Regions from separate parts of the Homo sapiens genome. Here regions 1 and 2 are each linked to region 3. The links are contacts of gene promoters, found by promoter capture Hi-C in blood cells and fetal thymus (Javierre and others, 2016). All regions are on one chromosome and are shown on one strand. The core of a region is centred on a gene start or on the middle of the fragment in contact, and the rest is flanking DNA. Distances in the headings are between cores, read along the strand shown. Region 1 overlaps KANK2 (KN motif and ankyrin repeat domains 2). Region 2 overlaps SMARCA4 (SWI/SNF related BAF chromatin remodeling complex subunit ATPase 4). Region 3 holds the start of ELAVL3 (ELAV like RNA binding protein 3).

Evidence for each region. Contacts are between HindIII fragments. The CHiCAGO score rates a contact against its expected background, and 5 or more counts as called.
Region 1: a fragment that was not itself captured here is called in contact with the fragment with the promoter of ELAVL3 in region 3 in 1 of 17 cell types (M0 macrophages); the score reaches 5.0 in M0 macrophages.
Region 2: a contact is called between a fragment that was not itself captured here and the fragment with the promoter of ELAVL3 in region 3, in 1 of 17 cell types (neutrophils). The highest score is 5.3, in neutrophils.

Annotation. Positions count from the first base shown.
Region 1 is chr19:11,176,684-11,180,375 of GRCh38, reverse strand. It overlaps KANK2 (KN motif and ankyrin repeat domains 2), which reads left to right. Exons shown (of 13, transcript NM_001136191.3): 5 at 1,656-1,823; 6 at 1,929-2,031; 7 at 3,559-3,692. Among named protein-coding and RNA genes, the nearest start is that of KANK2, 19 kb to the left of the region's middle. The HindIII fragment of the contact is 2,157 bases long and covers 472-2,628 here.
Region 2 is chr19:11,041,541-11,045,222 of GRCh38, reverse strand. It overlaps SMARCA4 (SWI/SNF related BAF chromatin remodeling complex subunit ATPase 4), which reads right to left. Exons shown (of 35, transcript NM_003072.5): 30 at 3,663-3,682. Among named protein-coding and RNA genes, the nearest start is that of LDLR, 46 kb to the left of the region's middle. The HindIII fragment of the contact is 3,906 bases long and covers 235-3,682 here.
Region 3 is chr19:11,479,743-11,483,476 of GRCh38, reverse strand. It overlaps ELAVL3 (ELAV like RNA binding protein 3), which reads left to right and starts at 2,431. Exons shown (of 7, transcript NM_001420.4): 1 at 2,431-2,877. The coding sequence starts at 2,869. ZNF653 (zinc finger protein 653) reads left to right here. Exons shown (of 9, transcript NM_138783.4): 9 at 1-48. RefSeq lists silencers at 625-1,064, 1,095-1,344, 3,719-3,734. The HindIII fragment of the contact is 20,383 bases long and covers 1-3,734 here.

The DNA of each region.
Region 1 (3,692 bases), core at 301-2,800, 300 kb after region 3:
TGCCTATAATCCCAGCTATGCGAGAGGCTGAGGTGGGAGGATCCCTTGCGCTCTGGAGTTCTAGAGCAGCCTGGACAATATAACAAGACCCTGTCACAAAGAAAAAAACCCCAACAACCTTTTTAGCCATTAAAGGGAATTCAAATTAATTGGTCTTCAGAGTTGGCGCCCCGGGGGACAGGAAGGGGAACCCCCGAGGAAATGCTGACACAGAAACCATGCATGGGCTGGGCGGTGCTGCTCCGGAGGTAATCCCAGCACTTTGGAAGGCGGATCACTTGAGCTCAGGAGTTCAAGACCAGCCTGGGCAATATAGTGAAACCCCATCTCTACAAACATTACAGAAAATTAGCTGGGCACAGTGGCATGCGCCTTTACTGCCTGCCGCTCAGGGGGCTGAGGCAGGAGAATCACTTGAATCCGGGAGGCACAGGTTACAGTGAGCCAAGATCGCATCTCTGCACTCAAGCTTCAGTGAAGGGAGTGAAACCCTGTCTTACAAAGCAGCCATATGTGGCCCAGGGGGACCTGAGTGGATTCCAAGACATTGGTGGCTACACAAAAAGGAAACTGGACTTTTATTCCACGCTGTTGGCTGGCAGTCCAGGACCTCAGCATCCAGGAAGTCACCTTTGTCCTCAGACCAACCTGGGTGGGTGTTTTTTGTTGTCTTTTGTTTTCTTTTGTTTCGTTTCGTTTTTTTAGTCAGGATGTGTTTTTTTTTTTTATTTTTTATTTTCAGGACAGTCTCTCTCTGTTACCCAGGCTGGAGTGCAGTGGTGTGATCTCTGCTCACTGCAACCTCTGCCTCCCGGGTTCAAGCAATTCTCCTGCCTCAGCCTCCTGAGTAGCTGGGATTACAGGCATCCCCCCACCACGCCCAGCTAATTTTTGTATATTTAGTAGAGATGGGGTTTCACCATGTTGGCCAGGCTGGTCTTGAACTCCTGACCTCGTGATCTGCCCGCCTCAGCCTCCTAAAGTACTGGGATTACAGGCATGAGCCACTGTGCCTGGCCACCAAGACGTGTTTTTATCTCTGATTTTTTTTTTTTTTTGAGAGGCAGGGTCTTGCTCTGTTGCCCAGGCTGGAGTGCATTGGCGTGATCTCTGCTCACTGCAACCTCCGCCTCCCGGGTTCAAGCAATTCTCCTGCCTCAGCATCCTGAGTGGCTGGAACGACAGGTGTGCACCACCACGCCCGGCTAATTTTTCTATTTTTAGTGGAGACGGGATTTCACCATGTTAGCCAGGCTGGTCTCGAACTTCTGATCTCAGGGGATTCGCCCGCCTCAGCCTCCCAAAGTGCTGGGATTACAGGCATGAGTCACCGTGCCCGGCCAAACCTTATTTTTAGCGATCACTCAGGCTCGAGCCAGGAATATGGGGCCACAGGGTTGTCCCTGTCCCTGACTAGCTGCTGGGCAGGCACCAAACTGGATTCTGCCACCTGCTCAAGGGGTTACCTTGGCAGCTCTGTGCCTCAGTTTCCTCATCTGTAATAATCCGATTTCCCTCCAAGGGGCAGGAAGACTGGATGTGGTAACACAAAAATCAGCCCTGTTACAGCTCCTGGCCCAGGGTGTATGACCCGCAGGGCTGTGGTGGTTTGGCTTTTATGACCAAGAGCAGACACTCATTTCCTGTCCCTCCAGGCCTCCCAGAAGTTCCTGCCGAATCGTCTTCGTCACCCCCGGGGTCCGAGGTAGCCTCCCTTACACAGCCTGAGAAGAGCACAGGCCGAGTGCCCACCCAGGAGCCCACCCACAGGGAGCCCACCAGGCAAGCAGCCTCCCAAGAGTCCGAGGAGGCCGGGGGCACCGGTAAGTGGTGGGTGGCCGCCAAGAGGGACGGGGCACCGGGATGGCGCCAGTTCGGAGTCTGGCCCTGAAGGACTCTCACAGCACCTCCGCTGTCCTCCCCTCCAGGCGGGCCCCCGGCAGGCGTGCGATCTATCATGAAACGGAAAGAGGAGGTTGCAGACCCCACGGCCCACCGGAGGAGCCTCCAGTTCGTGGGGGTCAACGGCGGGTGAGAGGAGAAGACCCCACCCCCCACCCCATACTTCCCGCCCCTCCTCCATTCATCCACGCACGAGAGCCTCCTAATTACCTCATTCTGAGCTCCTTGCTTTGGTTAATTCGTTTAATCAAACCACAACACAGAGATGAGGAAACTGAGGCATAGGAAGGCTAAGCGCATTTCTGGAGCTCACTCAGTGACCCAGGAGTCAGCCCTGCGTGCCCTGGCTCAAGAGCTCAAGGTGTAACCACTGCACAGCTCTACCCCACAGAAGGTGCCGGACGCCGCTTCCTGCCCTGATAGAGCTCCTGGTCCAGTGGGGAGCTGGGTGCTGATGGGTGGTTGGAGCCGTGATGGGGAACACTCAGGTGGTGCAGGTCCTCAAGAAAGACACAGGTGGCCCTAGGGGAGTCCCAGAAGGAGGAGACACAGGTGGTACGGGAGAAGTAGGAGCTAGCAAGGTGAAGAGAGGGTGTGGGGAGGGCTCTTCTGGCAGGGGCACAGCGTGGGTAAAGGCTCAGAGGTGGGAAAGCAGAGTGACACGAGAAGTGGGAGGTGCAGGGAGTGATGGTTGGTTTGGGGCCTTGAATGCCGAGCCTAGAAGCTTGATTAGGTTTTGTCCAGAGCCAGCAAGAAACACGAGAGAGCCCTATTTGCAGTGGAACAGGAGTCTGAATCACCTGTGTTAAAAGGGCTAGAAGTGGCCGGGCGCGGTGGCTCACATCTGTAATCCCAGCACTTTGGGAGGCTGAGGCGGGTGGATCACTTGAGTTCAGGAGTTCGAGACAAGCCTGGCCAACATGGTGAAACTCCATCTCTACTAAAAATACAAAAAATAGCTGGGTGTGGTGGGTGCCTGCAGTCCCAGCTACTTGGGAGGCTGAGGCAGGAGAATCGCTTGAACCCAGGAGACAGAGGTTGCAGTGAACTGAGATTACACCATTGCACTCTAGCCTGGGCGACAGAGCGAGACTCCGTCTCAAAAAAAAATGGCTAGAGGTGGCTGTGCGCAATGGCTCACACCTGTAAACCCAGTTCGAGATCAGCCTGGCCAACATGGCAACATGGCGAAACCCCGACTCTACTAAAAAATACAAAAATTAGCCGAGCACAGTGGTGCAAACCTGTAGTCCCAGGTATTTGGAAGGCTCAGGCAGAAGAATTGCTTGAACCCAGGAGGCAGAGTTTGCAGTGAGTGCCACTGTACTCCAGCCTGGGCAACAGAGCAAGACTCCATCTCAAAAAAAAAAAAAAAAAAAAGGAGGGTGAGTATGCTAGAAGTGTCAAAAGGCAGGAGGTGAAAAGCAGTGCCCCTCCCCCCGAGCATGATCATAATCACTGCTAATGTTTATTGAGCGCTTACTGTGTGCCAGTTGCTGTAAACCACATCCCACAACCCTGGAATGTCAATACTGCCATTGAACAGATGGGGAAGCTGAGGCCCACAGAGGTCAGATCACCAGATCCCTGCCTTCCTTTCCCACCATTTCTCATCCCACCTGCAGCATCTCCCCCTCCCCGCTCGTTCCTCCCCAGGTATGAGTCGTCATCCGAGGACTCCAGCACAGCAGAGAACATCTCAGACAACGACAGCACAGAGAACGAGGCCCCAGAGCCGAGGGAGAGGGTTCCGAGTGTGGCCGAAGCCCCCCAGCTCAGGCCTGCAGGGA
Region 2 (3,682 bases), core at 938-3,437, 440 kb after region 3:
TCAGCCTCCCGAGTAGCTGGGACTACAGGCGCCCACCACCACACCCGGCTAATTTTTTGTATTTTTAGTAGAGACGGTGTTTCACCATGTTAGCCAGGATGGTCTCAATCTCCTGACCTCGTGATCCGCCCGCCTCGGCCTCCCAAAGTGCTGGGATTACAGGCGTGAGCCACCGTGCCCGGCCAGTATGCCCTTTTTAGTGTCTGGCTTCTTTCACTCAACAAAATGTAAGCTTCTTCCAGGTAGCAGTACTATGTCTGTTTTCACAGCTGTTTGGGGCCCTGTACGATTAGGCCTCCACTGATCCATGCCCCTGTAGATGGACACTGGGCTGATTCTTGTTTTGGGAGATTATGACCAAAGTGGCTATGGACACGTCTGTCGGTGTGGACAGATGCACTCAGCTCTCCTGGGTAGAACGAGGGCTGCAGGCTGCTGGGTCAGAGGGTATGTACAGGCTGAGCCTCAGAAAATATTATCTTCTGCAGTTCGATGGTTAAAAACAAACAAAGCAAAACAGAAGAGATTGCCAAAGAGCTGCATACTCCTACACGCAGGGTGTGAGGCCAGACTGCTTCAGACTTGCCAGCACTGATGGGCATTCGGCCGTTCTGGGGCGGGTGCTGGTGCAAGTCACTCTGGTTTTAACGAGCATTTTCTTGAAGTTGTGATGCTAATGCAATGACGTGAGCACCTTTCCCCACATTGATTAGTCCTGGGATGTCCTGTGTAAGGAGGCGTCTGTTCCCGGCTCTTGTCCAGCTTTAAATTGTGTTGTCTTTTCCTCATCTATGAGGAGTTTTCACTGTCTCCATCAGCGTGTCCATTAATAAACAGATGTTATTAATTTCAGTGAGGTCTAATTTCTCAATTGTTTGTGATTAGTGGCTTTTGGCTCCCGTGGAAGAAATCGATGCCTACTCATGAAGATTTTCTCCCGTGCTTTCTTCTAGAATTTTGTTTTACCTTTCACGTTCTTACATCCACAGTCCATGTCACGTGGATCCAAGTGCATGGTGTGTGCGTGTGTGGGGGTGGTCGAGGCTCATCCTCTCTACGTGGATACCCAGGAGACCAGTGTGATGGAGACACCCGTGCTTTCCCCACTGCGCTTCAAGGGTCTTCTTTAGGTTGGTAATGTTAAGTTTCCCTCACAAGATTATCATTAGAAATAAAACATGGGGAGGGTCTGTCATTGTCATTAGATTTCTGCGAATTCCCTTTTTTTGTTTTTGTTTTTTGTTTTTCAGGTATTGTCTCACTCTGTCACCCAGGCTGGAGTGCAGTGGTGCAATCTTGGCTCACTGCACCCTCTGCCTTCTGGGTTCAAGCGATTCTCGTGCCCAGCCTCCCGAGCTGGGAGCTCAAGCACGCATCACCATGCCAGTTTAATTTCTATTTTTGTATTTTTTGTAGAGATGGGGTTTTGCCATGTTGGCCAGACTGGTCTCAAACTCCTAACTTCAAGTGATCCGCCCACCTCAGCCTCCCAAAGTGCTGGGATTACACGAGCCACTATACCTGGCCCATGTTTTAAATAAGTATTCTGTATTTATTTCATTTTTTTAAGATACAGGGTCTCATTCCATCACCCAGGATGGAGTGCAGCTGTGTGATCATGGCTCACTGTAGCCTGGACCTGCTGTGCTCAAGTGATCCTCCCACCTCAGCCTCCCAAGTAGTGGGGACCCCAGGCATGTGCTACTGCCCGCAGCTGTATCCCGCACTTTAAGTAACTTAAGTCCTCCACTTGCTTTCCTCTTTGAGGACTTAGCCTTGGAGTTAGGTTTGTGAATTAGAGTCTATATATTTTTTTCTCAATACTGACAACACATGACATTTTCAGATCTGGCATTGAACTTGAATATGTCTCCTTTCCTTCATCATCTGTTTCTCTTCCAATAATAAAAGAACCTTTCTTTTTTTCTCTTTTTGAGACGGAGTCTCACTCTGTCCCCCAGGCTGGAGTGCACTGATGTGATCTTGGGTCACTGCAACCTCCGCCTCCCAGCTTCAAGATTCTCCTACCTCAGCCTCCCGAGTAGCTGGGATTACAGGCATGCACCACTACGCTCGGCGAATTTTTGTAGTTTTAGTAGAGAGGGGGTTTCGCCATATTGGCCATGCTGGTTTCAAACTCCTGACCTCAAGTGATCCGCCCGCCTTGGCCTCCTAAAGTGCTGGGATTACAGGCATGAGCCACCGCATCTGGCTAAAAGAACCTTTTTAAGCAGTATTTTGTTTTTGGAGTGGGCGTCTTGCTCTGTCACCCAAGGCTGGAGTGCAGTGGTGCAATCTTGGTCCACAGCAACCTCCACTTCCTGGGTTCAAGTGATTCTCCTGTCTCAGCCTCCCAAAAAGCGTGCCACCACGCCCAGGTAATTGTTTTCCTATTTTCAGTAAAGATGGGTTTTCACCATGTTGTCCATGCTGGTCTCAAACTCCTGACCTCAAGTGATCCTCCCACCTCAGCCTCTCAAAGTGCTGGGCTGACAGGTGTGGACCACCACAGCTGGCCTTGCGCGGTAATTTTGACTCATTAATTTAGGCACTCCAATTGTTACCATCCTCTAAAACTTCACACTTGGTAAGATTCTCTCCAAACCATGCATGTGGGCTCCCTTCACTTTCCCCTCCAACAGATACAATTCCCCCACGCTCTGCTTCATGACTAACAGCAAACTGTTATTTAAAATCAAACAGTACAACCCTCCCATTACGGGGACAGCCGTACTGGCCAGTGTGTACCAGGAAGTGAAATAAGACCTTGGAGAGTGGAAGACTGGGTGAGTCCTGGGCCAGGCATGGGCCTTACACCTTTGCTGGCTCCTGCCCAGCTCTGTGACCTGCCCTGGGCTGGCAGAAGGTGCACATGCCTCCCTGGGGAGTTGCTGAGAACATTCCTTTCTTCTTATTTAAATGGTACCCATATAGAGTCGCTCACGGAAAAGGATATTAGTAAATGAAAAACATATAAATGGCACTCATGATCCACCAACACGTTATGATCCGCCGCTGGGCCGTGGCCACAGCTGGAACCGCATGCTGCCTCGTATATAGGACATGTCTGTGAGGACAGCGATCTCCAGGCTTGGAGCAGGGCCTGGCAGAGAGCAGGAGTGTGGCCACCATCTCACCAACACAGAGATGGCACAGGTAGCCTGGGAGGGTGCAAGGACAGGAGAGGGCTGCCACTTTCTCTGCTCCAGACATGCCAGCCTCTTGTCCCCAACCTCCTGGCCACACGGGCAGCACCCATTACTGCCATATAACCCCTCATCCCACCTCATCCCTTGAGGCCACCAGGCCACAACTTTGGCAGAGCCTCTCCGCCTGCTGTGGCCTCTGCTGGTGCACTCTCCCCAACCTCCCCTCTCTCAAGGCTCTGCTGCAATGTCCCCTTCTCCGAGACCCGCACCCCTGCCTCTCCTCTCGACCACATGTGACATTCCCTCTCATCACCGCAGATACATGTGTGCTTCCCTGTTCCAGAAAGCATGTTCCTCAGGGCCAGGCTCAAAGACACAGAGATTCAGTCAGTGTTTGTGGATGAGTGAAAGAGTGAGCGGCCCAAGCCTGAGTGTGCAGAGTCAGAGTGCAGATGCCAGGCCTGCTCCCACGGGGACCCCTACAGCCCCCGCCCTCCCCGCCTCCTCGCTTACCTGTCCTTGTACTTGATCAC
Region 3 (3,734 bases), core at 1,182-3,681:
CTGGAACTGTGTCAAGAGAGCAGAGTGAGATTAAAGAGCGAGAAAGGAGATGCCCTTCCCCTAGGCCTGAATGATTTGGGGTGCCAGGCCCCTCTCTGTCTCCAGCCTACTTGATCCCTTCCTAAGCGAGGCAGGGAACGAGGGATGCCCCTGGGCCCAGCAGCCTCGCACAGCCCCTGCTCCCACAGGATGGGGTGAGGCTTGGGGGTCTGGGGTCTCTGGGCATCTCCCGGAACTCAGGACCCTAATTTCCACTTCCTCCTGTTTTATGGGGCACCCATCTCCCACCCTCAGTGAGCTCCGGGATGAGATGGGGAGGTGTTCAGTAAACCCCTAAAATGAGAAACATTTGCAGCTAGCGACAAGCGCCATGCAAAAGAGAGAGTGATGCGTTGTTTTCCGGGGATGCTGTTTAGGTCGGTGGTCAGGGAGGGCCTCTGAGGAGGTGGCATTTGCGCATAGACCAGAATGACAAAGATCTATCCCAGAAGAAAGCTGGGGGAGGAAATTCTCAGGCCAGAGGAACAACCAGTGCCAAAACCCCGAGGTAGAACTAGCTCGGCGTGTTCCTAAAACAGGAAGCCGCGGGGGGAAGGGGAGTTGGCGGCGGCTGCCCTGGCCCCATTTCCCGGAGGAGGATGCTGAGGCCGCCGCCTCCTGCGGGCCGCTAGAGAGAGGGGCGGGGAGCGAGGCGCGGCCGCTAGGTGGCGTGCGAGGCGCGTAGGCCCTGGTGGCCGCAGCCACGTGACCCTGGGGACCGCAGCCGCGAGCTCAGGCACGTGCCCGGGGGAGCCCTGTGGCGCCACGCGCAGATTGGCCCCGCCGGTTCCTCACCAGTTCGGGGGATGAGGCGGGGCCCCAGCTATGCCTCAGTTCCTGCTGCGGACCGGGGGGCTACCCCAGCCGGGGACAGAAGAATCGGCAAGGATGAGCGAGTCCGGCCGCTGGGGCCGCCCCCGCGAGCTCCCTCCCCCCGCGAGGCAGGTCCCCTCCACTCTCCCCGCACTGCCGGAGCCGGCAGGTTTCCATGGGAACCGCAGCGGGGTCCGCGCGCCCAGGAGCAGCCCCCCTCCTAGCTCAGTTTCCGATGACGGAAACCGGGAGGAACACGGGGTGGGGAACAGACCATCGCTTGGGGCCCCTAGCGCCCGCAGCCAGGTCGCCCCGGCGAGCCCAAGAGGGGCCACCCGGGGATCTGCACCGCCACCGCCCCTATTGCGCGGGCCACTGCGATTGGCCTGCCCTTTCCAGGCGTGGCAGCATCCCCTGGTGCGCGCACTCCCATTGGCTCGATCTCTAGGGCATCTTCCAGTAACTGGTTATCTCAAGGGCCGCCCCTGATTGGGCAAATTAGGCTCTCCTCGCTGGTGGCGCTCTCTGACAGTCTGGAGCCTAAAGGGCGTGCAGGAACGAGGATTGGGTGGGGACTGCCGCTCTCCAGTTAGGGGGTCTGGGCTACCTCGCCGGCAGCGCCCTCGACCGGACTGTCGGATTGCTGTCTGTGGTGCTGAAGCCTCACGCCCTGGCGACCCCGCCCCAGTGTGTGCTAGTTCCCGCGCCCCGACGTAAACATGCACCGGCGCCCGCGCACCAAAGGAGGCTGCGCCACCCCCAACGCCTTAGAGAGAGGCCAGGTTCCCCCTAGCAGAGAGCGAGCATGACTCCACAGTCAGGAGGACCAATCACGAGCCTAGAAAGCCAGGACATTTATGTGGCAGATCCACCCACCCCAGTTCTGTGGGGTCCAAGAAGGATCCGTGGTTTCCCAGAGCTGCATGGCTCCAGCGATGATTGTCCAGAACACTGAGCCCCAAACCTTTTCACCCCCTTCGGAGCAGTGCGGAGTTTCCTTGCACTGGGGAGTGCCAGTCCTTACCTTTTGAACCCTAGAAGGATCCAGCTCACTCAAAACCAACAGCGTCCCAGTCTCCTTCTGCAGAAGACTAGGGCCACAGTAGCCACCCTCCCCCGTGGTCTTGAGGTGGTCTACACTGGTGCCTCCAAATCTGGGGACCCAGGCCTCTGCCTACTAAAATATTGGTTCCTGATCCCCTGTCCAGTTCCCTCAGTGGACAACACCTCTGGAAGGTCGCATATTCAGGCCACTAATACCTCCTCGCTCTGTTGGCTCCTCCAGCTCTAGGAGCTGGACGGAGGAGGGGAGCCCGTCTCCTGGCCCGAAAGCCAGCCCAAGAAGGGGTGCCAGGGTAGGAAGCAAGGGCCTCGAGGGAAGGAGGGCCCAAATCTGGCAACCCGAGCACCTAGGATGCGCTTTTGGGGGATTCAGAGTCCCGACCAGTGCGCGCTCACTTCCACCTGCCGCGCCGTCGGGAGCCGCGAGGAGGCGGAGCTCGGTCGCCGCAGCCAATGAGCGACGCCGGCGCTGGCAGCTGCTGCTATAAAGGGCTGGGGGCGGCGGCGGCGCGGTCCAGAGCGCGGAGCGCGCAGCGCGGGCCGGAGGGAGGGAGGGAGGGTGGGCGAGGGGAGAGGACTTGAACACACGGGACCGGACAGGACCGACCGAGGGGCGGCGGCGAAAGGCAGAGCGCCGCGATCTCTGTCGGGAAGCGCAACCTCCCCGGGCCCCGCGGGGCCGCGCAGGGGGCGTCCTCAACCCCGCGCCCGCTCCCTCTTTCCATCCCCTGCCGCCCGCAGGCCACCCCGGGGCCCGGCCATCCGCGCGCGCATCCCCGGGTTCGGGCCCGTCCCTGGCCCTCGAGGGAGCCGCCGCCTTCATCGCCACATCTGCAGCGGCCGCACCAGAGGCCGCCCGGGCGGGACCCCAGCGTGAGCATCGGGCGCCCCCCTAGGAGTGCACCACCCCCGGAGCCCCCCTCAACACGGACCGCGCCCGCCGGGCACACAAGAATGGTCACTGTAGGTATTCCCCTGTCGCCGAAAGGGAATCGGGACGGGGAGGAGTTGGGCCCAGGCTCCGCGGAGATTGGGCGGGTGCGGCGGGGGGGGTAGGACCAGGCCTAGCTAGGCCCGGGTTGGGGGGGTAGGACCAAGCCTCGGGGCCTGAGAGTGGGCAGGGCCGCGCCCAGAGTGCTGAGGGCGCTTAGAGCTTGGTCTGAGAGGGCCTTAGGGAGACTGACTGCGATTCGGGAGGCGTCCGACGCCGCCCTGGAGGCGGGATTGCCCCCTCTCCAGCAGGCCTGATGGGGGAGGGGCCGCGGCGGCTAAGGATGCTTCCTCCATCCAGGCCCAGACCCCGCAGGCCGCCCAGGCAAACGCAGGGCCCGATCACTGGTGCTGGGCCAAGCCAAAGCGACAAAGCGTCCCCGAGAGCCCTGGGAAAGCGGGTGGCGTCGGATCGCGCGCCCCGGGCCTCGGCCGCACCCGGGAGGCGGGCGTCTCGTCCTCGAGCCCGTCGACCTTGCGGCAAGCGGGGAGGGGAGAGGAGGGGGCGCGCCCGGAGGCCCCGCGGGCCCGCCGCCGCTGCTGCCGCGTCCCTTTGTTTCTCGGCGCTTCTTCGCGGGCCGCAGCCTCGCGCGGGCGCCTCGGGCTGCGGGGAGGGGGAGGGGAGAGGAGGGCCCGCGGGTTGGGGGGGCACCTCTGGGCTCCCGGGTCTCCGCCCCCCGGGAGATGGGGTGGGAGGCCGAGACAGCCCCCTTAGGCCAGGTCCAGGCTCCCCACCTCGCCAAGGCTCTGGGCCGCGAGGTGACCTTGAGCGCGGCCCGCCCGCCTGCTCGCCCGCACCGCTAGCCCCGCGCTCGGTGCTTTCAGCAGCC